2 separate regions of the Homo sapiens genome follow, and region 2 is linked to region 1. Evidence: promoter capture Hi-C in human tissues and cell types (Jung and others, 2019). All regions are on one chromosome and are shown on one strand. Each heading gives the region's core, a stretch centred on a gene start or on the middle of the fragment in contact. The rest is flanking DNA. Distances are from core to core; before and after follow the strand shown.

Region 1 (3,404 bases), core at 547-3,046:
ATTCAGAAGCCGGGATCACTGTAGGTGAGGGTGCCCTGGGAGTGGAGGACCCCAGGACGTAACCGCCCCAGGCTCATGTCAGAAGGATACACAGCTGCACTGAAGCAAGCGTGAGCCGCAGGCTGGATCCAGGGTACCCCTTGAGGAGCAGAGCTTGGGAGCTCCTCTTGGACCTCCCCAGCCTGGTCCCTCCTGCCCACCCCCTCCCCCAACCACCAGACACTAGGCTTTGAGGATTGCTGTGAGCATTTTAGAACAAAACCTTTTTTTAAAAAGAGGGATGAGGCCAGGGATGGTGGCTCATGCCTGTAATCTCAGCACTTTGGGAGGCTGAGATGGGCAGATCACTTGAGCCCAGGAGTTCAAGACCAGCCTGGACAACATGGTGAAACCCCATCTCTACCAAAAATTTAAAAATTAGCCGGGAATGGTGGCACATGCCTGTGGTCCCACCTACTTGGGAGGCTAAGGTGGGAGGATCGCTTGAGCCTGGGAGGCGGAGGTTGCAGTGAGCTGAGATGGCGCCACTGCACTCCAGTCTGGGCCACAGAACCACAGCCTGTCTCAAAAAACAAAACAAAACAAAAGGTCAGGGTTGGGAAACAGGGAAAGCTTCCAGGCTGGCCTCTGCAAAAGCTAGGGAGGGGCAATGGTGTCCCCCAGTTTGCAAGAGCCCATGGCGAGCTTTTCAGGAATTTTGCCAACTGGTTGTTAAATACAGCTATTATTAAAAATTGAATTACATCAACTTATGATTAAACGGGCTAAGTTCAAAACAGGCAATTTTTTAAAAAGCATGAACCTTCAGGGAAGAGCCAGGTAAACAAAGGCAGCTGGTACCACGTGGGCTTCAGACCAGGGATCAGGCCCGGCCTCAACTCTGGGTGTGTCCTCCAGCAACTCGCTCTGCCGCTCTCTCCTGTCTTAGTAAGTTTCTGGCCTACTCCTCAGGGTTATTGTGGGAATTAAGTCACACCACGGGAGTACCCAGCAAAGTGCCACACCAAGCAGGGCTGGACAATGTTAGTTCCTTTCACTCACTAACAAGTTATTGGCTAGTGTCTCTTCCTGGGGCCTCTGGGTCAGCGGGGTCTCGTCTCCCTGTCCTCCTCTCTCTCCCCCGCCCTCTCTGGTGCCACCAGGTCACCCACTTCCACCCAAGGCTCCCCACCCGCCACTCGCCACGACCCCACCCGGCAGGCCGCCCCAAGCGGACAGTCACCCTTAGTGCCAACGTAGCGGCGCGCCTTCTCTCCTAGACTAAGCCCCCTCTTCCGCCCAGGTCCCGCGCGGGAGCCCCGCGCCGAGCACCCCCAAAGAGCCACTCCCTCCCCCTCCAGAAAGGCAAGCCGCCACGCCGCGGCAGTTACCCGGGTCTCGGACTCCCGGCTTCCTGGCTCCGCCATGGCCCCCGCGGCGCGGCGCCCCCTCCCCGCGCCCGCAGCTGTCCCCTCCTCCCGCCACCAACCTGCAGCGGACCAAAGGGAGGAGACTCCGGCACAGCCCACCGCCGCGGCCACTCGGAGCCGCTGCTGCCCGCGCCTTCCACTGGCCGGGCCGTGGGGGTACGCCCGCTCCGCCCAGCCCAGGCCCGCGCGGCCCCCGCGCCACCCGGCGTCCCCCTCAGACCCCCGCGGGTCCCGGAGGCCCCGCGCGCGAGGTTGGCAGGTGCCGGGCGCGAAGCGGCCGCGCGGGGGAGGCGCGGGATGGCGGCGGGCGGCGCAGGGTCCCCCTCTGGCGGTGGCGCGATGGTGCGCGCCGCCTGGGGAGCTGCGGCCGGGGGTTTGAACCGGCCAACTTCTCCAGCCGGCCGGGGCGAGCGCCAGCGCGGCGTCCGGGGCGAGTGAGTGCGGGGCGGGGGCAGCGGCCGGGCGCCTGGGCCGCCGGTCGGGCCACCTGCTGCCCGGGGAAGGATAGCGTTGCGAGAGTGGGACGGGGTGCCCCGGGAACCCCTGATCCACCTAGGGCAGAGGGCAGCGAGCTACGGGCCGGACTCGGGCACTCTGGAGGCGGGCGAGCTCGGGCTGCCTGGGGAGGCCGCAGGCGATGGCGTGTGCGCGGCTCGCGGAGCTTCCTAGCCGTGCGCCCACCCCCTCTGCCTTGGAAGGAAAGGGGATTCTAAGCCCAAGATGCCATCGCCCCCCATCCCGGGCATGCTTTCATTGCTCTTTCCTGGCGGGATCGAGTACTGTAACTTCTAGGAGCCAGATCCCCGCCCCAGGAAGCGCCCCTACTTGGAGTCCTCGGAAACTCTTGCCCCACCCGCTTCTGCGCTGGGCCCCCGGGCCGGCTGGGAGGGGCGGGGCCGGCTTTCCAGAGGGAATCTGCAAACTTATCCCGCTGCACGCCCCAGCCTCGCTGGCTTGCTGTAAACAAGGAACCCGGGGGAGTGCGGAGGGAGAAAGAGCTTCTCCCAGGCCTCACCCTACTGCACACACCGACTTCCTTCCTCACGCCTGTCTCTCTTTCCTGGTTCCCACCCGTGCCAGGTGACACGCAGAGCTGAAGCCATGGTTCATCAGGTGCTCTACCGGGCGCTGGTCTCCACCAAGTGGCTGGCGGAGTCCATCAGGACTGGCAAGCTGGGGCCCGGCCTGCGGGTGCTGGACGCGTCCTGGTACTCACCAGGCACCCGAGAGGCCCGCAAGGAGTACCTCGAGCGCCACGTACCCGGCGCCTCTTTCTTTGACATAGAAGAGTGCCGGGACACGGCGTCGCCCTACGAGATGATGCTGCCCAGCGAGGCTGGCTTCGCCGAGTATGTGGGCCGCCTGGGCATCAGCAACCACACGCACGTGGTGGTGTATGATGGTGAACACCTGGGCAGCTTCTATGCTCCCCGGGTCTGGTGGATGTTCCGTGTGTTTGGCCACCGCACCGTATCAGTGCTCAATGGTGGCTTCCGGAACTGGCTGAAGGAGGGCCACCCGGTGACATCCGAGCCCTCACGCCCAGAACCGGCCGTCTTCAAAGCCACACTGGACCGCTCCCTGCTCAAGACCTACGAGCAGGTGCTGGAGAACCTTGAATCTAAGAGGTTCCAGCTGGTGGATTCAAGGTCTCAAGGGCGGTTCCTGGGCACCGAGCCGGAGCCGGATGCAGTAGGTAGGTGTCCCAGTGCTGGGTGGTCCCTGGGGAGTATTGCCCCATGGAAGGATAGGGAGTAAGGATGACTGGGACCCTCTCCAGGGTCCGTCCCATGCCTTCAATCCTCCCATGTAGGCCTCAGTCTTTCCATCGATAAAACCAGAAAGTGGAGACAAACCTAAAGGCTTTTTCAGCTTGGATGCACAAGGACCCAAGAATGTGTCCTCATAGCCATGTGCTAAGAAGCCACCTAGCATCTGTGTGAGCAGAAGTCACTGGTGACATGTCCACCACCTCCACTCCCAGGCACCAGCTGC
Region 2 (3,404 bases), core at 656-3,155, 270 kb after region 1:
TGAATGCTTGAATCAAGCAGTTGCTGAGCACCTACTATGTGCCAATCCCTGTTCTATATCTTGGGATTTTGTCAGTGAGTAACACAAAAATGCCTCCCCTCAGGGTGCTTACGTTCAAGGGGGGTGAGCGAGGTGTTTGATTGAATAGGTAAATTTTGCAGTCTGTTAGGTTGCAATAGAGCAGAGGCGTGCAGAGGACGTGCCAGGGTGGGGGCTGCAATATTAAACAGGGAAGTCGGGAAGACCTTCCTTGGAAGGTGATGTTTAAGCAGGATTTGAAGGTCATAGCACCTGGCACCCTCTAGGCATCATTGGCTCATCAGTGACCCCTCAGAGGTGGAGCTTGACCACTTTCTTTTCCTAGTGCCCAACGCTGGACCTCCGTAAAGTCCGATGAGTGTGGGAGGTGTGGATGGACACCAGAGATGCATACCCTGCCCTAGAATCACCTGCCATCCATAGAGGAGAAAAAGGAGCCGACTCTTGATTTCTAAACTCCAGTGGAACCCAAAAAGCGTTGATCTTTCAAATCCTGAGGGAGGTTAGAGGAACCGCCCCTCTGTCTCCTTTAGGATCTCCGAAGAAGGTTCTGTTTGTTGTCCTCCACGATTCTTGCCTTCTGTAAGAGCGGTTTGGCCTGGGACCTGGCCTCTTGTCCTCTTCCATGGCTCTGGGCTGGCCATTCCGCAGCATCTTTTAGAGCTGCCTCTTGACATCACCTGATTCAGCCAGAGAGGGCGGGGAAGCCGAGGTGACTGGGAGGGTGGACACACTGTGGGGCCGGTCGTGTTTGGGGTGGGTGTTCAGAAACAGTTGCCCAGTTCCAAAGCACTGCCTCTGTGACACCCAGGCCCTTCCCTGCCGCATCCATTCAGATGTGGATGGGGTAGGAGAAGCCCGCCAGGCAGGTTTCCCTGGACGGTGTTTCTGCTGTGAAAGGAGCCCTGTAGTTTTCCGTATCTGGGAAACATGCATTGGATAGACCATCTTCTGGAAGGAGAGATGGGGGCAAGAGGCAACCTGCTTCCATGTCTATAAATAAAATGCATTCATTTTGGTGCTAAAATGTTGTGGTTTTAAAAATGGAATACTAAAAACTTCCTGGCCCAAGCTGGAGTGGCAAGAAGCACAGATTCAGTTGATCCCAGGATGGGAACTGAAATTTACACTAAGCCACATCTACTGGACGATTGGTGCCCATCCTGGAGATGCAGAAGGAAGCCTTTGGTTTTGCACCTGTGCTTCCCATTCCAGCATTCATCTCTGTCCAGGGTCCTGCCCTGCATTGGAGATCAGGGAGGACTGAGGAGGTGGCCTGGAGGAGCTCCAGGTCTGCTGCCTAGGAAGGGTTTCCAGGACCTTGCAGGGAAATACCTGATGTTAGCCAGGGAAGAGAATTCCAGACAAAGGGAAGCATATGCAAAGGCCCTGAGGCATGAAGCTGGAGGCCCTCTTGGGGAACCGTGTGCGTTGTAGGGTTTGGGGAGAGACGGGTGCCCAGCAGGTGAGGTCAGAGACAAGGATGAAGCAAGAACATGGAGCTCTTTGTACCCAGAGCAGAGGAGTTGGACTTTCTCCAGAAGGGAGTGGAGAGCCATTATCAGAAGTGACTCACCTGGATTTTTGCTTTGGAAAGATCAGCCTGGAGGAATTGGAGGGTGGAGTGGGAGAGAAGGTGCCTGGAGGTAAGGAGACCAAGAGCTGATGGGGATGAGGGGTAAGGTAGGACAAGGCTTGCACCATCTCCAGCATTTGCAAAACTTGGGGAAATGTATTTTCAGCCCCTTAGAGTTGTCCTCATTTCACACACCCATCCTTTTTGTTCAGAACACCAATTGATTTTTAAAGTGTGTTATCCTTTATTTACTTTAGAGACAGAAAACACAGAGAGAGTGACTTCTCCGGGTTGCAAATTGTCAGTGATGGAGCCAGGATTAAGAACTCGGGCTGGCCAGCCCTCTGTGGATCGTATGATGTTTATGTATACGATGCCCATTCACTCTTCTGCCCTGCCAGCAAACAGAGCTGATGAATATGAGGAGAATGGCAGCGAAGAGCTTGTTTCCATTCTAAAAAGGCAAGAAGCCTAGGAAGGCTCATTAGGAGAAAATATTGAATGGGCAGCTTTCGAGTTTCACCTGTGATCTGAGAGGGAAAGTGTATTTTCACCGAAGCCATTATGTAACTGGTTCCGGGGGGCAGAGAGGAGTGACCAGAGAAGAGAATGAGGGCAAGAGACCAGGAGAGCAAAGACAGGGTCACCATCTAGAGGGCAGGGGCTACATCTGACATCCCCTGTAGACCCTCTGGATGCAGCCAAGGTTTAGAGGTTAGAGCACTGCTTTCATATCAGACGAGTGGAATTAGGATTGCAGCGGTGTGTCCTTGGACAAAGCACTGATCCTCTCTGGCCCTCAATTTTCTTGTTTATGAAATGGGAATAATACCACTAACCTTACCAGTTTTTGTGGGTGGATGGAGATATATAAAACCTACTTTTAGAAGGCATGATATATAGTAAACGTTCAGTGCTTTATAGGTGATTTCCAAATCATCTGTAGTAACTATGGCTTTTTTACAAGCATGGAAATAATGTGTGTTTATTTAAAAAAAAAAGAAACTATTACTAAAAAGCATAAAGAAGAAAGTAGAAAATATTCAAATCCTACCACTCAGAGATAGCCACCCATCACATCCAGGCATGTGCACCTCCTCCCTTTCTCCTCCACATGTACAAATATGTACATATTTTGAAGCCAAAAACAAAATGTGATAATGCCATATATGAAATTTGGAACTTATCTCTTTTCATTTAACAATATCTGGTGGGTATTATTTCAGGTCAGAAAATATGATTTTAGGCCAGGTGCAGTGGCTCACGACTGTAATCTCAACATTTTGGGAGGCTGAGGTGGGCGGATCACTTGAGGTCAGGAGTTCGAGACCAGCCTGGCCAACATGGTGAAACTCCATCTCTACTAAAAATATAAAAATTAGCTAGGCATGATGGTGGGCAGCTGTAATCCCAGCTACTCGGGAGGCTGAGGCAAGAGAATCTCTTGAACCCAGGATGGGGAGGTTACAGTGAGCGAGACTCTGTCTCAAATATATGTATCATATATATCACATATATATGATATATATATCATATATATGATATGTGATATATATGATATATATCATATATATGTGATATATGTGATATATATGATATATATCATATATGTGATATATATATGATATATATGATATATATATGATATATATGATATATATGACATATATGATATATATGATATATATGATATATATGTGACATATATGATATATATATGATATATATGTGATATACATCATATATATATCACATATATATCATATCATATATCACATATATATCATAT

What was found. Contacts are between HindIII fragments. The study calls those that stand out against the background at their distance.
Region 2: a contact is called between a fragment that was not itself captured here and the fragment with the promoter of TST in region 1, in 1 of the 25 tissues and cell types used here (lymphoblastoid cells).

The regions. Positions count from the first base shown.
Region 1 is chr22:37,017,839-37,021,242 of GRCh38, reverse strand. It overlaps TST (thiosulfate sulfurtransferase), which reads left to right and starts at 1,796. Exons shown (of 3, transcript NM_003312.6): 1 at 1,796-1,843; 2 at 2,490-3,105. The coding sequence starts at 2,511. MPST (mercaptopyruvate sulfurtransferase) reads right to left here and starts at 1,501. Exons shown (of 3, transcript NM_021126.8): 1 at 1,371-1,501. The coding sequence starts at 1,406. RefSeq lists silencers at 1,185-1,504, 1,515-1,634, 1,665-2,054, 2,215-2,274 and enhancers at 1,748-2,249, 2,278-3,253. The HindIII fragment of the contact is 8,246 bases long and covers 1-3,404 here.
Region 2 is chr22:36,751,482-36,754,885 of GRCh38, reverse strand. The region is part of intron 2 of CACNG2-DT (CACNG2 divergent transcript); the gene reads right to left. Among named protein-coding and RNA genes, the nearest start is that of IFT27, 23 kb to the left of the region's middle. The HindIII fragment of the contact is 5,414 bases long and covers 1-3,404 here.